Linked DNA regions of Homo sapiens: regions 2 and 3 are each linked to region 1. Evidence: promoter capture Hi-C in human tissues and cell types (Jung and others, 2019). All regions are on one chromosome and are shown on one strand. Each heading gives the region's core, a stretch centred on a gene start or on the middle of the fragment in contact. The rest is flanking DNA. Distances are from core to core; before and after follow the strand shown. Region 1 holds the start of NLGN1 (neuroligin 1). Region 2 overlaps NLGN1 (neuroligin 1). Region 3 overlaps NLGN1 (neuroligin 1).

What was found. The method cuts DNA at HindIII sites, captures the fragments that hold promoters and counts their contacts. A contact is called where the count stands out against the background at its distance.
Region 2: a contact is called between a fragment that was not itself captured here and the fragment with the promoter of NLGN1 in region 1, in 1 of the 25 tissues and cell types used here (IMR-90 fibroblasts).
Region 3: a contact is called between a fragment that was not itself captured here and the fragment with the promoter of NLGN1 in region 1, in 2 of the 25 tissues and cell types used here (H1 embryonic stem cells and hippocampus).

The regions. Positions count from the first base shown.
Region 1 is chr3:173,396,493-173,398,997 of GRCh38, reverse strand. NLGN1 (neuroligin 1) reads right to left here and starts at 1,254. Exons shown (of 7, transcript NM_001365925.2): 1 at 935-1,254. RefSeq lists an enhancer at 2,486-2,505. The HindIII fragment of the contact is 5,603 bases long and covers 1-2,505 here.
Region 2 is chr3:174,134,600-174,137,104 of GRCh38, reverse strand. All of the region lies in intron 4 of NLGN1 (neuroligin 1), which reads right to left. Among named protein-coding and RNA genes, the nearest start is that of NLGN1-AS1, 220 kb to the right of the region's middle. The HindIII fragment of the contact is 7,394 bases long and covers 1-2,505 here.
Region 3 is chr3:173,917,897-173,920,401 of GRCh38, reverse strand. All of the region lies in intron 4 of NLGN1 (neuroligin 1), which reads right to left. All of the region lies in intron 1 of NLGN1-AS1 (NLGN1 antisense RNA 1), which reads left to right. Among named protein-coding and RNA genes, the nearest start is that of NLGN1-AS1, 1.6 kb to the left of the region's middle. The HindIII fragment of the contact is 4,640 bases long and covers 1-2,505 here.

The DNA.
Region 1 (2,505 bases), core at 5-2,504:
GAAATGCTGAGACATTTTATAGGTTTTACACTCAAACATAGGTACACATACCCTTTCTCAGTGACATTTTAATATCTATGATCCTATTAATAATTGAGCACAATTAATGGTGAGAAATGCATTAAGACCCTGTAATTTTCATGTACAGCATGACAACTCAATTGACTTAAGCAAAAATAGTCTACCGGAGTTTGAGTATAAAAAGAGGGAAAATGAGTATATTAACTACCTGTAAAAATGCAGAGTAACAGATACTGGGTTAACTATACGAATTCACGTTTCCCAAGTGTTATATGTATCACTATGGCCCTGGAAATGCAAAAAGAAATAGTACCTTTGTGGAGGCCAACTGTTCATGATTTAGAATTATCACAAATGAATCAAATATTGGACATGTAATATCCCTCATCTCTATAACACACTAACAACCTCCTCTGGAAGAAATTATTCCCAATGCAAAATCTCAACCTAAATAATTTTAAATTCAGGTGGTTTTTCATTTCTACTCACAAGGCATTGTGTTGAGGCGGGCAGGAGTCGGTGGAGAACGGTTTAAATGTTTGGAATACCTTCTCTTCCCAGGAGAGTTTATTGCCCAATAATGCATAATATATTAGTTGCTCAACGCGGGGGATCTAGGGAGTGACATCTTGACTGGAAACACACAGATCTGAAAACCACCTCTCAGGAAACGTTGTGGGGAAGAAGAGCAACTTTCTTATCCCTGTCAAACTAACCGGCGGAACCAACCCCAGAACTAGCCGGAGGGCCTGGGGAGAGCAGAAGGCTGAAAGCAGCTCCTCTGCGCTCCGCCGAGGGTTCAGGCAAGGGTTTTCTTCTGGAGGCGGCATTGTTCCTCCATCTGCTCAGCCTCCGTATTTCGCCAGGAAACCCTCCCCGCTTTCTCGTAATCTGTTCCTTATTTCTTTTGTACCTCTCAGCCGATTTCCATGCTCTTGGTCTCTGTGGTCCCAGGGCACAGCTCTAGGGTGAAGAGCTGCAGTGACTGGGGCGCCGCTCTAAGGCTTTGGAGGCGACTGCACTCCGCCCGGGCTCTGGCAGCGTGAGCGCCGCACAGTCGCTCGCTCCCTTCTCTCCGGTCTCTCCGGCTCGGACGGGCTCTCCCGGCCTCTCATCACCCACTCCGACTCGCCTTTCCTGCCGTGTCTCCCCACGCCAGCTCCGCGCGCTCGGCGCTGGCCGCCCGGGCGCGCTCTCCGCGCCGCCGCCTGATCCTCGGCTTACAGCCGCGGCGCTCCCCCGCCCGCCCACAGGCCGGGACTCCGAATTGAAGGGTCAACCCTCCGCGGGGAGGCGGGGAGGAGCGGCGAGGAGAGCTGGGGCAAGTGGGGAGCCGCGGGTGGGGGGACTGACGGGGGAACGGGAGAGTGAGGCCAAGAAGAAAGAAGATGCATCTGCTCCGAAGACGCCAATGAAGAAAGGACAGAGGGGGCAGGAGTGGAGTGGGGGAGAGAACGCCCACCAGGAGGGTGGGCAAAACGGGCAATTTACAAACTGCCGGGGCTGGAGATGCCGCGCGGAGGAGGAAAGAGGTTAGCGGCACAGAAGAAGAAATGAGGGGAAGTTCCCACATCTCCCCAAAAGGTCACGTTTGAAAACCGTGTCCCTTGAACGGGAGTTAAACAAGCGACTGGCCATGGTGTAAAAGGTGGATTTAAAAGGAAATTTAGTGTCATGTACTTATTTAGACACGGCTTCGTCTCGCTCAACTCTGGCAAATTACCCTCCAAGTAAAATGTATTGGTTTTATGCAGAAACGGAAGGCGAATCTCCTCCACTGTGGACTCCTCCTGAGATTGGTTTGTTTGCTGGTTATCTTTCTTTTTAAATGAAAAAAAGCGTTTGGGAGCTTCCATGAACCCCAACGCTTAAAAAAAACCACCCAGTTTATTAAAGTTCATTATTTTTTATTGCTTTTATTTTCATCAGAGGATAGGGTGAGGGACTGGCATCTTCAGATGTTTAAAACACTTATTTAGGTAGCATTATTTTTTATAAAGGACACGATTTCCTAAAACCGCCAGAAAGGCTATTGGAAAACTCAGCTACTAGCCTGGGAAAGAGAGACGCATTTAAACTCAAATAGACGATTATACCTCCAGCACCCCCCACCCCCACCCCAATGGGATTGGAAAAGGGTTGAGTTTACAGAAGAGAGAGAGCAGAGAAGGGTGGGTGGAAGGTGGGGAAGGCGAAGGAGAGGCAGGGAATAGGAAGTTCTCGGCAATCCCCGGGATTAAGGTAAACGCCGGAGCTCGGCGGACGCAGGAAGCTCCCTTACCTTTCTCTCTAAGCCCCGTTTGCACCTGATCTGCAACCATAAATACTTCGTGGTGCTTAGTGTGCAGCCAAACGATGGCCAAATGTTAAACAATTCTTCACGCTCCCTCCCCCTTTTAAAAAACAGGCTCAAAAGAATGTTAATAGTGTTCTTGTTATCCATCGGCTCCAAAACATTCCGTTTCGTGGGGAGGAGAGACGAAA
Region 2 (2,505 bases), core at 2-2,501, 740 kb before region 1:
TCACTTTCAGCACGGTAGTCAATAAATTACATGAGATATTCAACACCTTATCATATATATAGGCTTTTTGTTAGATGATTTTGCCTCTGTAGACTAATGTAAGTGTTTTGAACATGCTTAAGATAGGCTAGGCTAAGCTATGTTTGGTAGGTTAGATGTATTAAATGCACTTTCCATTTACGGTATTTTCAACTTATGATGGCATTATTGAAATGCAACCCCATCATTAGTCAAGGAGCATCTGTAACATTTATGGCTGTGTTTCCCAAACTATGTAAATGGAACAAATATTCTGTAAGATAAAAATTAATTACTTTGGGAAACCTGGCATATTAACACCTTTGAATAGTCAAGGTACTGATAAGTGCTGCAATAAAGCTACCTGTTTTTAACATTGTTATGTCTGCAGGCCTACCTGGGCAGACATATTTTCAAATGAAAGAGAGCTAGCTTATTCTTGGTAAATAGAGTTGCTTACCCTGAACCTAATGAACAGAGTCAAGAAAACAATATCTCTTCCTTACCTCTAGTAGAATCTCCTCTTCAGCTTCCTCTTGGTAATCAGGTGGTCTGTGCTAGGCATGCTTTTCTTAAAAAATTATAAATTGGTAATTTTCACTGTCAAAACAATGTTGCTCTGCCCACCCAGTAAGTGTCAATTTTCTCCTATATCTTATATGGCTTTGTGACCTCACAAAACAATGACCTAAGTCCCAATTTAATAATACTGAAGCGTATCAGTTTAGGGATAGGGTCATGGAAACAGGCTGAAGTATTTATTCAAATGTAGTTATTTCCTACAGTATCTGAAAGTGGGGGTAACAAACACCCAATAGTATGTATTGCTATGTGCCTTTTATTTTCCTGTTCTTAATATTAATGTGAACATTCCACCAATATATCAGATATGTATTTTTGGAACTTACAAACATCTTTTGTAACCTATATCTATTGTATCCTGCTGCAGATGTTCAGAAATTGAGGACTGTTCCAATCTTGCAATTTCAAAATTATTTCCAGAGGAAGCAAAGATCAAAGCCCTCCACAAGCATGCATGGCTTTAAACATATTAGAAGATAAATTAAGCCATGTTCAGGCAGAAAGAAGAAGCGAGAGGTAGAATTTTAAAATTTAATAACAGCGGCCTGCAAATAGTAGTCACTTTTTACTTATTGAATCTCAATTTTCAATGCTACAGTAATAATAGTTCCCATTTTATTATTTCACCAGATTTGATCTGGGTCTGAATCTTAAAAATGGCTTTTCCTAAAAGTACTAGCTTAAAATAATAAGGAATTACTTAGTCAAGATAGTTCTTGATCGGTAAATTTTGTCTCACGTACATAGCAGTATATAAAATTCAATTTTTATTTTAGTTAAACTAAGTATCAAATGACCACAGTGACGATTCCAGCACTGGATCCTGTATTCCCTGGTATTCTATTAGGTCATATTTCAACTACTGTAAATATGTAAATTCTGTTACACAGAAGATCTGGAAATAACCAAATATTCTTTTAAAAGTCAAAACTGTTAGCACTTCAAACCCATTTACTAAAAACTAGAGTGAATAAAAAAGCTTGTTATTTCAAAGATTTATCTGTGTTATTAATAGGAATCATTAACATCTCTCGAGGGTTAGAAAAATATTTGCTTTAAGCCACATATTCTCTAGACAACTACTGCTCCCTTTCGAGCATATTTAACTGTTTACCTTGAAACATGTTACACCTTTATGTCCTCTGCCTATCATTAGGATGTAACCAAAAACAATTCTATCGTATGTTCTAGCTAACTACTTACAATTTCATTTGTCAAAAAATAAAAACAAATGTTTTTTACCTTATCAGTTTGCTCAGTATTTTCAGACATTTACCTAATAAACTATTTAAAATAAAGATTCTGAGAAATACAACCTCCATGAAATTGCCTCAATAATGGTTAATTTAGGATACCAAATGTCTGATTAAGATGCATTAGAAATCTTAAGAAACAATAGTGTTACACGTGGGATGATCAGAATGATAGGTATTATAATAAAGACATTAGGAAAATGGTTTTAATAATCTCAGAACTTTGGCAGAACACTAAATTGCGGGGTTTTTTTCTATGTCAGAAGTACCTACAATTGTTTCTGAAAAGGAAGCATAAATATCAGACAGGGTGCCAGCTCCTCCAGGAATACAGTAGAAAGGCACAGCCTTAATCTTTCTTGCATATGCTTCCAAAAATTTGCTGGATATCTGGGAATATGGAATTAGACCTTCGCCTCTGCTTTTACCTGGGCACCCACTTGTGTCTCCACTGGTCAGGTCGCATTTAACTGTGTATGAGAAATTGATCCAGTCCTTACTTTCCTGGTGGCATACGAGAGTTTCCTCAGAATTGCCAGGGTCCACACTATCCAGCTTCAAGTCATTTATCTTGAAGTTGCAGGCTTTTGGGGGGCTATGTAGAAATACCAAGAAGAATCAAGTTTCTCTCACTACTTCACATGCTTCAGCC
Region 3 (2,505 bases), core at 3-2,502, 520 kb before region 1:
GCCCAAATCTGAAGAAAACAAATTATATTATCATAGTTTTCATTATTTTATGAGCACAGTCAATGGCAATATAACGTTTACATTTGTGCTTTCTTTCTAACACACCTGCTTTAGGAGTCAATGAATCATTCAATCCAAAGGGCCACTTATTTGGTACTTCATATGCAGTAATCTAGTCTAGTAGTAGGCTAGAACACTTGATAACCATAAGAGATAATCCAAGCCTTTTTTATTTCTATCTCAAATAAGTGGCCTCAGAGTATCTGTATCTAGTCTGCCCTTTCAGCCTGAAGATCAACATTAGAATTTTCAGTTTCTCAAGATACTAGGTTTGCTCCTTTTTTCTCAATGTCTCTCTCAACCCTGCTCTGGGCAGTTTGCAATCTAAAGTCCTATGACTAAAATATTTTTTTAAAAAATAGCATCCCAGCATTCTCCTTTGATTAAATTAAGTACAAAGCTCTTCAGTATCCATGTTAATATTTTAAATATTGATTGCATATATGTTAAGATTTATAAAACTTTTAGAAAAATGTCTATTATTTATTAAGAAAGAAAAATGAGTCTTCTCTATAGCAAAACTGTGCATATTTAATAGCTATATATCTACTAGAACATTTTTTGTTTGCATGTTTTTCATTTTTAGTTCAACAGAAGATAAAAACATGAGTAAAATGTACAATTAGCCATTTAATATAATATAGAAATCCTTAAATATTTTATCCATATTTTAGGAATTCTTTTAAACTGTTCTAGCTAAGATACAATGAGTTATAGACAGAGCATGACCTAGTTAAGAGTGTGGATTTTGGAATTGGCCAGGCTTATTTCAAATTCTTAACTCTACCATTAGCTGGATGATTTTGGACAAATTTTTCTAGGAGTCCTGTTTCCTCTTCTGTGAAATGTGGCTAATGGAACCTTCCTAATAAAGTGAGTGTGGCTTAGACAATTTAATGAAATTGTGTAAATTATCTCACATGGATTCTGTCATATGGTAAAAACCCAAGAAAATTTTTTTCTGCTCTGTCCTCTTTGAAATATGCTTGTAAAGTAAAATATGAACAACAGTAAACTTGAATCTTTTCCTTAATATGTCCTTTATGTCCTCAAGGGGATAAACAGCTTTTTCCTTCATATTCTCTGTAGCAGATACAAAATGGCCTCCCAAAGATGTCTGAGTCTTAATCTCCAGAATCTTGAATATGTTACGTTACAAATACATTTGTCAGATTTTGCAGATATGATTAAGTTAAGGATCTTGAGATATAGAGATTATCCTGGATTATCCAAGTGGACTCAATATAATCACAGGAGTCCTTGTAAGAAAAGGAGAGAGGTAGGAGAGTGAGAATCAGGATAAAAGATGTGGTGACTGAAGCAAAATCAGAGACAGAAATTGAAATCTGAACATGCTGGACTGCTAGTTTATTCAAAACCAGCAGAGGAACTAGCCAAGGAATGCAGGTAGCCCCTAGAAGATAGAAAAGGCAAGAAAATAGATTCTCTACTAGAGCCACCAAATGTAATGCAATCCTGTAGACACACTGATTTTAGGACTATAAAATAATAAATTTATGTTGTTTTATAACACTAAATATGTGGTAATTTGTTACAACAGCAATGGGAAACTGATACACTCAATAAAGGCAATAAATGGACTAGAAGACGTTACCATTCTATGCAATATATATATATACACACACACACACACACACACACACACACACACACACACACATATGTATTTCTTTTTTTTTTTTTTTTTTTTGAGATGGAGTCTCACTGTCACCCAGGCTGGAGTGCAATGGTGTGGTTTCAGCTCACTGCAACCTCCACCTCCCAGGTTCAAGTGATTCTCCTGCCTCAGCCTCCCGAGTAGCTGGGACTACAGGCACACGCTGCCGCATGGCGCTAATCTTTGTATTTTTAGTAGATAGAGTTTCACTATGTTGGTCAGGTTGGTCTCAAACTCCTGACCTCGTGATCTGCCTGCCTCGGCCCCCCAAAGTGCTGGGATTACAGGTGTGAGCCACCGCGCCCGGCCCATTCTATGCATTTTAAAATTCCGGTGTTTGATACCTTTTGTAGATGTGTAGCAAGCTACAGAGAACTGTAATGATACTTAATAATAGTGAGGTCATTTCATGTTGCAACACTTAATGAAGCATTAAGTAAGCACAGTTAAGATTTCACATAAATACGTTTAAAGAACTACAAAGTTCAAGCTTTGGAAGATATTAATAAGTAACGAATGCATTACTTCTATTAATAAATAATAAGAACAAGTACTATAATTGACTGAATACTTAATATGTGCCAATATGATAACCATCTTACATACATTATCTTATTTAATTCATAAAACAGCCTTAGAGGTACGTGTTCTTACTGCAGTTTTACAGAAAAGGGACTGAATTTAAAAGTTTAACTTACAAATGGACAAACTGAAAGGAAGTGAAATGGTTTGAACCATAGCCTGTTGATTTAAAATCAAGCCATTCA